Regions from separate parts of the Homo sapiens genome. Here region 2 is linked to region 1. Evidence: promoter capture Hi-C in human tissues and cell types (Jung and others, 2019). All regions are on one chromosome and are shown on one strand. The core of a region is centred on a gene start or on the middle of the fragment in contact, and the rest is flanking DNA. Distances in the headings are between cores, read along the strand shown. Region 1 holds the start of INSL4 (insulin like 4). Region 2 overlaps RLN2 (relaxin 2).

Region 1 (6,980 bases), core at 2,272-4,771:
AAAATGTGATTTAAAAACCCTTTTCACAAACTACAACACACATAGTATACAAAAGTTGATCATAAAGGTATACAATTTTGTGCATGAACATGTGTTACCAATATGTTCTCCCTGAAACTGTTGAATTCTTCTGCTCTTTTCTTGCCTTTTTTGGTGTGTGTGTGTGTGTGTGTGTGTGTGTGTGTGTGTGTGTGTGTGTGTGGCCTCCAGCTCCAGACTCTAGAGACAGTAATTGTAGTTTCAAATTAAGTATTCAGATAACTGGTAACAATTAATCAATCACCCATGGGAGTTCAAAGAAAGAAATTCATGGAAAGATACAATGTGATTTCTCCCAAGTATAAAAAAAACCTCCATGGGTGCTCTCCCAAGACTTAACAGTCAACCCTATAGGATGCCTGTGTTTCTCATCCTTCTCAGGATCAATGGAGGGCAGATGTAAGTACATACCTTTGAAGAAAGTTCCTTGTAAACTTCAAACATTGTTATACAAGCCTAAAGTGATGTTATTGGAATTTTAATAGTGTTCACAGGACCTGGTTTAAACATCACTAGTCGTCTTTCTCTAATGAACAACTGATCCATCCACTCATCAAAATACTATGGATAGATACACAAGACAATATAGAAATCAATACAATATATTTTAATGTTTGGAAGAAAAAATACAAATAAATACGGAGTAAGTTAGGAGAAATATTAAATGTGGGAGTTGAGTCAGGCTGGTGGGAAAAATTTAAAGATAGTTATAAGAAAAAGATGCAAACCTTCTTGGAAGGCTGGAGGTGTTGCATAAGCTCCAGTAATAGATCAGGCTGGAGGCAGCCTAATCCTTACCTTGAGTTAATAGCTTAGGGCACAGATACAAAGGAATGTATAGTAGTTTATCTAAATAGCTTGTTTACACATGTGGTCTTAAGACCAACCTTTGATCAACCGCAGGTGCATAATTGCTCTCTACTCGGGAGGGTGGCAATGTCTACACTCTATTGGGCTCATATCTTAGATCCACTTTTCTTTTGCCCTGTCACTTGGGTATACAACCCCTTCCCAGCCTTTAATAACGTGACTGCTTAGCTAGGAGGGATAGATTTACCCCCAGTGGGGTTCCTCAATAATGGCACACATTGGACTAAGGTGCCAGATAACACTACAGATCACTCTACTATCCTCCCATTGTGTGTAAATTATAAATGTTCTAACCCTTAGTGTGCACCTACTGAAACACAATTATGGCTACATCATGGCAAAAGAAGTGCCTTAACAGTCTTAGCTGCAGGTAGCCTCAAAACGGAAATCAAGTCTGCTTTCCCAAACATTCCTTCCTGTGCTAAAGAACAAAGCCGGAAAAATAACGGATTCCACTTTAGCTGGGAGATCTGTCATGGGGAATAAGCTCATAGCCTCCAGTTAGGCAATTATAACATCCTAGACTGGAGCCCCTGTGGCCATTTGTAGGGCAGCCTTACTGATATCCTCATCCATCATGGCATCGATCACAGTTTCATAGCCTCGTCCCATTCCCTTATGATTTGGGCCGATGGGAGGATAGGATATCCCAGACCCCGAGTAAAGTTGATGCCTCCCCAAGACACTTTATGTTGCCTGGGACATCTTAGCACCTCCCTTGACACCTGGCATGGGACATATCATAATTACAGTAACAACTATACTATAACCTTTATTCATAATCACACTGATCAGTCCCTAATTTGCAACTCCATCCATATGTTTTCCTTATGGGAACTAATATTTCTATTACAACCCAAAATTCCATGTTTGTGACCCGGGTGCAAGGACAGGCTTTGTTTGCCTCATGTACCACTAATTACAATATATCTAATTTAAATACTACTAGTGTCATGGTATTAAGGAGACAATCTGAGGCATTCCTACCCGTCAATTTGACACACTATTGGCAAGGTTCCTCTTCCTTTGCCACCTTAGAATGTGCCCTATCCCAGGTCAGACCCAAAAGATTTATAGGCACACTTATAACCTTTATAGTCTCAGCCATAGTCATCCTAGCAACTGCTAGTGTGGCTATAGCATCTACTACCGAATCAGTGCAAACAGCTGCTTTTGTAGACAATTTGGCCAGAAATGTGTCTAATGAACTTCTCTTACAGCAGGGTATAGATCAAGAGATTCTTGCACGTCTGCAAGCCCTCGAGGCTGCCTTGGAATTTGTGGGGGAGCGACAAGATGCCCTAGCATTCTGATAGCAATTAAACTGTGACTGGGAGCATAAACATATCTGTGTCACATTTTTACCTTGGAATCAATCAATACATAGTTGGGATGAGGTGAAACAACACCTCTGGGGAAACTTTCATGACAATTTAACAGCAGACGTAAAGCAACTTAAAACTAAAATTTTAGAATCCCTTCACATGATAGATCTACATACTCAACAAACAGCCATATGGAAAGGTGTGCAAGATCATTTCTCCTGGTTATACCCCCGATCCTGGGGGTCACACTTTGACTGGAAAGGAATGTTACTAATTATACTCATGATTGTCTTACGTTATTTGCTAATTCTATGATGCAAAGCCGGAATAAAAGCAAAACCTAACAAACCTGTTGCTGCACACATCTGTACTCTTAAGTCAACAGAACCCGATGCAAAGAACAGAAAGGGGGGAGATGTGAGAGTTCAGTCAGGCTGGTGGGAAAATTTTTTCAGATAGTTATAAGAAAAAGACGCAAACCTTTTTGAAACGCCGGAGGGGTTTGTATAAGCTCCAGTAATAGATCAGGCTGAAGGCAGCCTAATCCTTACCTTGAGTTAATAGCTTAAGGCACAGATACAAATGAATGTAGTTTATCTAGTTTGTTTACTCATGTGGTCCTAAGACTAATCTTTGATCAACCGCGGGTGCATAATTGCTCTCTACTCGGGAGGTTGGCAATGTCAATTACCTTCTAGTGGTGTTTACTCAAGACCTTCGTCATTTAATCTATGCTGAATAAATGTGAGCTTTGCTGGCTGATCGGGGCCACGGCTGCAACTCTTTACAGCACCCTCCTTGGTGTCTGTAGGTGGCCCGGACCCTCAGCTGGACTGACAGGCAAACTATCTGTGTCAGTGTATGTTATTCATCCGTCGTTGGGTCAGGGTCTGTGGGACAGACCCCCGCAATTAAAAGCTTATATGCCAAATGTTAACTAAGATAATTTCTAGCCAATGAGCTTACAGGTCAGTTCTATTTTTATTTCATCTAAGCAAAGGACATTAAAAATTACCATTATTTTAGTAAGCATAAAAATAGTATTACAGGAGGAAAGTTAAGAAAAAGAAGTAGAACAACCAAATTCAAAACAAGCAAAGTGCAGCAGCACATTGGGAGCAAAGAGGGATATGAGAGTGTGGGTAGGGCAAGTAGGGAGACTAAATAAGAACTGAGGGAGAAAGTTCCTTGTAGGTGGGTGGGAAAGGGGTGGAACTGACACCATTGACGCAAAAGCTGAGTAATAGCCCTAAGCAAATAAATGCCTGATGAAGGCATGCAGAAAGCAGTCTGGAGCCCAGAAGGGACACACCAGCACAGTCTGGTAGGCTACAGCAGCAAGTCTCTAAAGAAAGGCTGAGAACACCCAGAACAGGAGAGTTCAGGTCCAGGATGGCCAGCCTGTTCCGGTCCTATCTGCCAGCAATCTGGCTGCTGCTGAGCCAACTCCTTAGAGAAAGCCTAGCAGCAGAGCTGAGGGGATGTGGTCCCCGATTTGGAAAACACTTGCTGTCATATTGCCCCATGCCTGAGAAGACATTCACCACCACCCCAGGAGGGTGGCTGCTGGAATCTGGACGTCCCAAAGGTGAGAGCCCTGGACTACCAAACAATCAGAATGAGGCCTGAAAAAACAGGCTCCAGATCTCATTGACTGCCTGTAGTCAACTCAGACTCTACTGTGGCTAGTGCCTACAAGTTTGTGGTTTTTCATTGTAATGTGCTTTTATTAAAAGGGTCTCACCAGAAATCTCATGGGAAGTTGGGGGTAGAGGAGAAGCTGCAGGAAAAACAGAAGAACAGCCTCACCTTGGAGGCTCTTGGTGCCTTTCCCACCTGGCAGCCAGAGATACAGGGTGGAGAAAACAGGGAATCCTCAGAGAAGGTGACTATTCTCAAACACCAGCAGGAGGTGAGGTGTACTCCCAGACCCCCAGGAAAGCTGGGCAGGCCAGAAAACAGGTGTGATTGCAATGAGATGCCTGGGCCAGGCATCTTCAATTAAGAAGAAAGGGGACAAACAGTGAGGTGATGAGCTGATTATCATTTCTGTTTATGCACCTATTGGCCTAGGGGCAGCACACTGAGACCTCTGTTAGGTTCCTGGAATGTGAGATAAAGGGGGCTTAGATTTAATAACTCTCATCCTTTGTCATTAAGCTGGGCAGTGGTCTATGTCACCAAAAACGTCCTCTTACAAAAAAGTTTTTTTTAATGCACACCAACAGAGCACCTTGCCTCCCATTTCTTTGAATCTACTCTTGTAGTGTGTTGAGAGAGATGAGATGAAGAGAAAGAAAGTGGCCTGGATGACTAGAGGGGAAATTGAAGGGGACCAGAGACAAGGGAATTTCACTGTTCAGACCATCATAGCTGATTTGATTAGTGTTTTCAACATTTGAGACTGCAAAGCATTTTCTTTAAAAGCAAGATTTCAGAATTGAGGAAAGTTCAATACCAGGATAGTTTTCAAACTTTACCAAGTAACAAGGTATTCATAAAGATAAATTGCCAGCTAAGTTAAAACTAGCAGGGGCAGTTTCGAAAAGAGATAGAGGCTACTATATTCTGTCTAATAGGTCGTATTAAGTTCTGAAAAGCTAAGTTAAATTACTAAACATTGTTTTACATTTAATACAAATGACACAGGTTTTGAACCAGCAATGTGTGACTCCAGAACTGCTTCTTGTAACCCATATGCATACACTTCATTAAATCATTAAATGACTCTGTTTAAAGTTATCGTGCACAGTGAATGCACTTGGATTTTGTGTGATTTATATAACGATTTCAAAGTTATTTCCTTTTTTTACATTATTAGTCAGAGCTTGTTTCATTTTACTATAAAATAAGGGAAGAATACCACAAAGTCCAAACAATTTCTAATGCAAACTAAGGAAGAGCATGCTGTACTATAATTTCTATTTAAATTTCACTTTTTTTCAGTAAATAAGTGAAAATCCTCATTTAAATACTTTGACAAATATAGATAAATTTAACAAGAAAAATGGAAAGTATTCATGGATAACAAATGTTAACATTTGGTGTCGACACATATAGATGTATGTTGCTTCTCAGCCTTTTAGCTAAGATCCACTGATATAGATGTATAGATTTATGTGGATCAGATTTGAATATCTGAATCTTTCTATTAGAATAACTTGTGATTATAAAAAAAATTCCCTATTGCTATCCAGTACATAATGCATTGAGGTTATCAATCAAAACAGTGTCAGGGAGAGTCAAAAGTGGTATGGTATAGGCATTTAGAGGGTCATTAGAAGAGTGCATAGAGGGGACAGGATGAGGAGTTAGCATATCCTTAATATTGTAGTATCTTAAAGTGCCCTACTCTAAGTAAGCTAAGTTGTTGAAATGTTAGGATACTTGCTGATTCTCTCTGGTGTTTAATTACATGGAGGCAATGGGTACATTGTGGTCTAGGCAAATTGTATAATTTTTCTGATCCTCTTTCACATGAATGTTTTTCCTCACCTTTCATTCCTCTCTTTTACTTCACAGAAATGGTGTCAACCTCCAACAACAAAGATGGACAAGCCTTAGGTACGACATCAGAATTCATTCCTAATTTGTCACCAGAGCTGAAGAAACCACTGTCTGAAGGGCAGCCATCATTGAAGAAAATAATACTTTCCCGCAAAAAGAGAAGTGGACGTCACAGATTTGATCCATTCTGTTGTGAAGTAATTTGTGACGATGGAACTTCAGTTAAATTATGTACATAGTAGAGTAATCATGGACTGGACATCTCATCCATTCTCATATGTATTCTCAATGACAAATTCACTGATGCCCAATTAAATGATTGCTGTTTATTAGAACATGAGAATCATTATTAGTATTCACATGTTTCACTTGCTCTGTACTAATATAGTCTCTCCAAATGGAGGAAGTTAGATAGATGGAATAAGTTCTAGTAGTTGATAGTACAATGGGGAAATTATACTTAACAATAATTCACTGTATATTCCAAAATAGCTAGAAGAGAATTGTAATGATTCCAACACAAAAAAGATGAATGTTAGTTTGGATGCATATCCCAATTACCCTGATTTGATCATTACACATTATATACACGTATCAAAATATCACATGTACTACAAAAATGTGTATAACTGTAATATGTGAACTACAAACTTACTGGAAATAAATTTTTAAAGTTTTACACACATAAACACATACGTTCACACACACTCACTCAAGTCTCTTCATTTTTCCTCTTTTCACACTAGAAGAAATGTAAGAGATAAAGGATCTAACCATCTCTAACATCAGCTCATAGTACGGAGGAAAAGCAGTGAAGGAATGAACTGGTGGGAGAGGTATTAGGCATGTTCACCCTAGGGTAAACCCAGAGACCTCCCTAGAACTTTGCCCAATGCATATCCTCCACCTGCCTCTCAGCACGCTGCCTTTAGACCTTCAATCATTCTATAAACTCCTCTTTTGTCCCTGGCATTACTCCACATCCCCTCATCAAAGTGGTGAATTGGCACAAATACTGGCATTCCTCTGGCTACACATACCTCCTCCCTATGTGTCTCTAAATCCTAAATCAAAGAGTACATTTTATACTCTGTCAGTGAGGTTCTACTAGTTGTGTTTGTTTGTTTGCAGGCTAACTGAAGCTGCTACTACCTCATTATCAGGTCCTATAAACTTAATTCAAGTGGCATGATTTGAGTAGCCCCCTGTGCCTGCCCATAAAGTGCTCTGAATCTAGTG
Region 2 (6,980 bases), core at 1,695-4,194, 65 kb after region 1:
ACTGCAGCTCAGCAAGGCTGCTATGGCCAGACTGCCAGATTCCTCCTCTCTGGACAGGGCATCTCTGTAAAACAGGCAGCAGCCCCAGTCAGGGGCTTATAGCATACTTAAACATCCCTGCCTGATGGCTCTGAAGAGAGCAGTGGACTTCCCAGCACAGCGTTCAAGCTCTGCTAAGGGTCAGACTGCCTCCTCAAGTGGGTCCCTGACCCCTATGTATACTGACTGGGACACACCTCCCAATAGGGGCCAACAGACATCTCATACAGGAGACCTCTGGCTGGCATCTGGGAGGTGCCCCTCTGGGTCGAAACTTCCAGAGGAAAGAACAGGCAGTAATCTTTGCTGCTCTGCAGTCTCTGCTGGTGATACCCAGGCAAACAGGACTGGGAGTGGACCTCCAGCAAACTCCAGCAGACTGGCAGCAGAGGGGGCCTGACTGTTAGAAGGAAAAGAAATAAACAGAAAGGATTAGCACACCCACTCAAAGACCCCATCTGAAGGTCGCTAATATCAAAGACCAAAGGTAGATAAATCCACAAAGATGGGGAAAAACCAGTGCAAAAGGCTGAAAATTCCAAAAACCAGAATGCCTCTCCTCATCCAAAGGATCACAACTCCTTGCCAGCAAGGAACAAAACTGGATGGAGAATGAGTTTGACAAACTGATAGAAGTAGGCTTCAGAAGGTGGGTAATAACAAACTCCTCCAAGCTAAAGGAGCATGTTCTAACTCAATACAAGGAAGCTAAGAGCCTTGAATAAAGGTTAGTTGAATTGCTAACTGGAATAATCAATGTAGAGAAGAACATAAATGACCTGATGAAGCTGAAAAACACAGCACGAGAACTTTGTGAAGAATACACAAGTACCAATAGCTGAATTGATCAAATGGAAGAAAGGATATCAGTAATTGAAGATTAACTCATTGAAATAAAGAGAGAAGACAAGATTAGAGAAAAAAGAATAAAAAGGAATGAACAAAGTCTTCAAGAAATATGGGACTATGTGAAAAGACAAAATCTACGTCTGATTGGTGTACCTAAAAGTGAAGGGGAGAATGGAACCAAGTTGGAAAACACATCTCAGGATATTATCCAGAACTTCCCCAACCTAGCAAGACAGGCCAACATTCAAATTCAGGAAATACAGAGACCACCACAAAATACTCCTTGAGAAGAGCAACCCCAAGACACATAACTGTCAGATTCACCTAGGTTGAAATGAAGGAAAAAATGTTAAGGGCAGCCAGAGAGAAATATTGGGGCAGCCAGAGAGAAAGGTCAGGTTACCCACAAAGGGAGACCCATCAGACTAACAGTGGATCTCTCTGCAGAAACCCTACAAGCCAGTAAAGAGTAGGGACCAATATTCGACGTTCTCAAAGAAAAGAATTTTCAAACCATAATTTCATATCCAGCCAAACTAAGCTTCATAAAGGAGGGAGAAATAAAATCCTTTACAGACAAGCAGATGCTGAGGGATTTTGTCACCACCAGACCTGCCTTACAAGAATTCCTGAAGGCAGCACTAAACATGGAAAGGAACAACTGGTACCAGCCACTGCAAAAACATGACAAATTATAAAGAACATCGATGCTATGAAGAAACTGCATCAACTAACAGGCAAAACAACCAGCTAGCATCATAATGACAGGATCAAATTCACACATAACAATATTAATCTTAAATGTAAATGGGCTAAATGCCCCAATTAAAAGACACAGACTGGCAAATTGGATAAAGAGTCAAGACCCATCAGTGTGCTGTCTTCAGGAGACCCATCTGACGTGCAAAGACACACATAGGCTCAAAATAAAGGGATGGAGGAATATTTACCAAGCAAATGGAAAGCAAAAAAAAAAAAAAAGCAGGAGTTGCAATCCTAATCTCTGATAAAACAGACTTTAAACCAACAAAGATCAAAAGAGACAAAGAAGGGCATTGCATAATGGTAAAGGGATCAATTCACCAAGAAGAGCTAACTATCCTAAATATATATGTATCCAATACAGAAGAACCCAGATTCATAAAGCAAGTTTTTAGAGACCCGCAAAGAGACTTAGACTCCCACACAATAATAGTGGGAGACTTTAACACCCCACTGTCAATATTAGACAGACCAACAAGACAGAAAATTAACAAGGATATTCAGGACTTGAACTCAGCTCTGGACCAAGCGGACCTAATAGACATCTACAGAACTCTGCACCCCAAATCAAAAGAATACACATTCTTCTCAGCACCTCATCGCAGTTATTCTAAAATTGACCACATAATTGGAAGTAAAACACTCCTCAGCCAATAGAAAAGAATGGAAATCATAACAAACAGTCTCTCAGACCACAGTGCAATCAAATTAGAACTCAGGATTAAGAAACTCACTCAAAACCACACAATTACAAAAAAACTGAACAATCTGCTCCTGAATGACTACTGAGTAAATAATGAAATGAAGGCAGAAATAAAAATGTTCTTTGAAACCAATGAGAATGAAGACACAAAGTAACAGACTCTCTGGGACACATTTAAAGCAGTGTGTAGAGGGAAATTTATAGCACTAAATGCCCACAAGAGAAAGCAGGAAAGATCTAAAATTGATATCCTAATATTAAAAATAAAAGAACTAGAGAAGCAACAGCAAACAAATTCAAAAGCTAGCAGAAGACATGAAATAACTAACATCAGAGCAGAACTGAAGGAGATAGAGACATGAAACACCCTTCAAAAAATCAATGAATCCAGGAGCTGGTTTTTTGAAAAAACTCAACAAAATAGATAGACCGCTAGCCAGACTAATAAAGAAGAAATAGAGAAGAATCAAATAGACACAATAAAAAATGACATAGGGGATATCACCACTGATCTCACAGAAATACAAACTACCATCAGAGAATACTATAAACACTTCCACACAAATAAACTAGAAAATCTAGAAGAAATGGATAAATAACTGGACACAAACACCCTCCCAAGTCTAAGCCAGAAAGAAGTTGAACCCCTGAATAAACCAATAACAAGGTCAGAAATTGAGGCAGTAATTAATAGCTTACCAACCAAAAGAAGTCCAGGACCAGATGGATTCACAGCCAAATTCTAGCAGAGGTACAAAGAGGAGCTGGTACCATTCCTTCTGAAACTATTCCAAACAATAGAAAAAGAAAGAATCCTCCCTAACTCATTTTATGAAGACAGCATCATCCTGATACCAAAACCTGGCAGAGATACAACAAAAAAAGGAAATTGCAGGCCAATATCCCTAATGAACATCAATGAGAAAATCCTCAATAAAATACTGGCAAACTGAATCCAGCAGCACATCAAAAAGCTTATCCACCATGACCAAGTTGGCTTCATACCTGGGATGCAAGGCTGGTTCAACATACACAAATCAATAAACATAATCCATCACATAAACAGAACCAATGACAAAAACCACACGATTATCTCAATAGATGCAGAAAAGGCCTTCAATAGAATTCAACACCACTTCATGCTAAAAACTCAATAAACAGGTATTGATAGAACATATCTCAAAATAATAGGAGCTATTTATGACAAACCCACAGCCAATATCATACTGAATTGGCAAGAGCTGGAAGCATTCCCTTTGAAAACTGGCACAAGACAAGGATGCCTTCACTCATCACTCCTATTTAACACAGTACTGGAAGTTCTGGCCAGGGCAATCAGGCAAGAGAAAGCAGTACAGGTATTCGAACAGGAAGAGAGGAAGTCAAATTGTCTCTGTTGGCAGATGACGTGACTGTATATTTAGAAAACCCCATTGTTTCAGCCCAAAAACCCCTTAAGCTGATAAGCAACTTCAGCAACGTCTCAGGATACAAAATCAATGTGCAAAAATCACAAGCATTCGTATACACCAATAACAGACAAACAGAGAGCCAAATCATGAGTAAACTCCCATTCACAATTGCTACTAAGAAAATAAAATACCTAGGAATACAACTTACAAGGGAGGTGAAGTACCTGTTCAAAGAGAACTACAAACCACTGCTCAAGGATATAAGAGAGGATACAAACAAATGGAAAAGCATTCCATGCTCGTGGATACAAAGAATCAATATCATGACAATGGCCATATTGCCCAAAGAAATTTATACATTCAATGCTATCCCCATCAAGCTACCATTGACTTTCTTCACAGAATTGGAAAAAACTACTTTAAACTTCATATGGAACCAAAAAAGAGCCCGCATAGCCAAGACAATCCTGGGCAACAAGGACAAAACTGGAGGCATCGCACTATCTGACTTCAAACTATACTACAAGGCTACAATAACCAAAACAACATGGTACTGGTACCAAAACAGATATATAGATGAATGGAACAGAATGGAGGCCTCAGAAATAAACCACACATCTAGAACCATCTGATCTTCAACAAACCTGACAAAAACAAGCAATGGGGAAAGAATTCCCTATTTAATAAATGGTGTTTGGAAAACTGGCTAGCCATATGGAGAAAACTGAAACTGGACCCCTTCCTTACCTTATACAAAAATCAACTCAAGACGGATTAAAGACTTAAACGTAAGACCTAGGGCCATAAAAATCCTAGAAGAAAACCTGGGCAATTCCATTCAGGACATATGCATGGGCAAAGACTTCATGACTGAAACACCAAAAGCAATGGCAACAAAAGCTAAAATTGACAAAAGGGATCACATTAAACTAAAGAGCTTCTGGACAGCAAATGAAACTATCATCAGAGTGAACAGGCAACATACAGAATGGGAGAAAATTTTTGCAATCTGTCCATCTGACAAAGGCCTAATATCCAGAATCTACCAAGAACTTAAACAACTTCACAAAAAAAAAAACCCCATCAAAAAGTGGGCAAAGGATATGAACAGATACTTCTCAAAAGAAGACATTTATGCAGCCAACAGACATGAAAAAATACTCATCATCACAGGTCATTAGAGAAATGCAAATCAAAACCACAATGAGATACCATCTCATGCCAGTTAGAATGGCGATCATTAAAATGTCAGGAAACAACTGATGCTGGAGAGGCTGTGGATAAGTAGGAATGCTTTTACACTGTTGGTGGGAGTGTAAATTAGTTCAACCACTGTGGAAGACAGTGTGGTGATTCCTCCAGGATCTAGAACTAGAAATACCATTTGACCCAGCAATCCCATTACTGGGCATATGCCCAAAGGATTATAAATCATTCTACAATAAAGACATTTGCACATGTGTTTATTGCGTCACTATTCACAATAGCAAAGACTTGGAACCAACCCAAATGTCCATCAATGATAGACTGGATTAAGAAAACGTGGCACATATACACCATGGAATACTATGCAGCCATAAAAAAGGATGAGTTTATGTCCTTTGCAGGGTCATGGATGAAGCTGGAAACCATCATTCTCAGCAAACTATCACAAGATCAGAAAACCAAACACCACATGTTCTCACTCATAAATGGGAGTTGAACAATGAGAACACATGGACACAGGGAGGGGAATATCACACACCGTGGCCTGTTTGGGGGTGGGGGGCTAGGGGAGGGATAGCATTGGAGAAATACCTACTGTAGGTGATGGGTTGATGGGTGAAGCAAACCACCATGGAACATGTATATCTATGTAACAAACCTGCACGTTCTGCACATGTAACCAAGAACTTAAAGTATAATTTTTAAAAAAGAAAAAAAATAGACAGAACCAGTAAAATACTAAGTTGATAACTACGTCAGTTTACTTTTCTAACAAGTGTTCATACTATTTCAGTAATTTTGCTTACAGAAATAGTTTGCAAATTCTAAAGAAGTGAACATAAATTATGTTCCTTCATTATACTATTTCTTCTGTAATATATGATATGGACTTGTTTGTTCTGTTCTATATTATGTCTATTCCTTTTTATCCTTAAAAAATAATTTACTTTTAAGTTTCTTAGACACTGGAACTGAGAACAGAACCCTAGCTTGAAAAGTACTTGAGTTCCCTTCAGACTATACTAGAAAAAAAGGAAATTAAAAAGGAAAAAAAAGCGTTTGAGTTTATATGGTCTTAACTAAATTACATTGGTTTAGTGTCCAATCCGATTGTTTGCAATGAGTATTTCAATATGACACAAAAACCTTTTGTAATCTATTAGGAAAGGTCAAGTTTTATGGCTTTATCTATATCCAATCTAAGAGTTAATATCAATAAAACATTTTGGTCCATTTCATGTAACTGGTGTTAGGTATTGTTACTACTATATGGTGTTAGGTATTGTAACAACTGTATTGTTACTACGTATGGTTAAAGCGGTAGAGGTTTTATTGTAATTTTAAGTTAACAGCATTAAAAAGAATAACACAACATAATCATGCTGTTAATAAAAAGACAAAAAGGCTTTTCAGCAAAAAAATGTGTCATTTAATCACACAAAGAACATTTTCTTACACATCAAATAAAAAAATCTAAACATCAACAAAGATGTTTAGATATTCTAAGAATTGATGGGACCTAATATCTAACAAAGATTCTTAGATATTCTAAGAATTGATGGGACCTGATAGAAGCATCAGTGAAATGTCATTAAGAATATGTGTGAATATTATACGAGATGTGCACAATTAGCTTCATCTCAGCAAAATCTAGCAAGAGATCTTTTGGTACAACCAACATGGCAACATTTATTAGCCAATGCACTGTAGAGTTGTCTCTTTTTTCGAGAATGAGTATCCAAGCCTAAGTATTTTAATTCTGAAGGACTGCTGTCTGCGGCTTCACTTTGTCTATTGCGAATAAGTTTCTTAAATTCTTCAAAGAGAAGACTGGAATCTTTTAATACAGGTACATGTTGTTGTAGCTGTGGTAATGCTGGCTGCATCTCAGACAGGGTTAACTTCAGCTCCTGTGGCAAATTAGCAACAAATTCTGACATCATATTTATGGTTTCTGTATCTTTGTTGATGAAGGATGGCACAATTTCTGTTAAATTTAAAAAAAAAGG

The links. The method cuts DNA at HindIII sites, captures the fragments that hold promoters and counts their contacts. A contact is called where the count stands out against the background at its distance.
Region 2: a fragment that was not itself captured here is called in contact with the fragment with the promoter of INSL4 in region 1 in 2 of the 25 tissues and cell types used here (IMR-90 fibroblasts and aorta).

What each region holds. Positions count from the first base shown.
Region 1 is chr9:5,227,898-5,234,877 of GRCh38, forward strand. It overlaps INSL4 (insulin like 4), which reads left to right and starts at 3,522. Exons shown (of 2, transcript NM_002195.2): 1 at 3,522-3,822; 2 at 5,757-6,980. The coding sequence starts at 3,627. The coding sequence ends at 5,980. RefSeq lists a promoter at 2,799-3,616. The HindIII fragment of the contact is 9,700 bases long and covers 621-6,980 here.
Region 2 is chr9:5,293,487-5,300,466 of GRCh38, forward strand. RLN2 (relaxin 2) reads right to left here. Exons shown (of 2, transcript NM_134441.3): 2 at 6,378-6,958. The coding sequence ends at 6,612. Among named protein-coding and RNA genes, the nearest start is that of RLN2, 7.7 kb to the right of the region's middle. RefSeq lists an enhancer at 1-310. The HindIII fragment of the contact is 5,390 bases long and covers 250-5,639 here.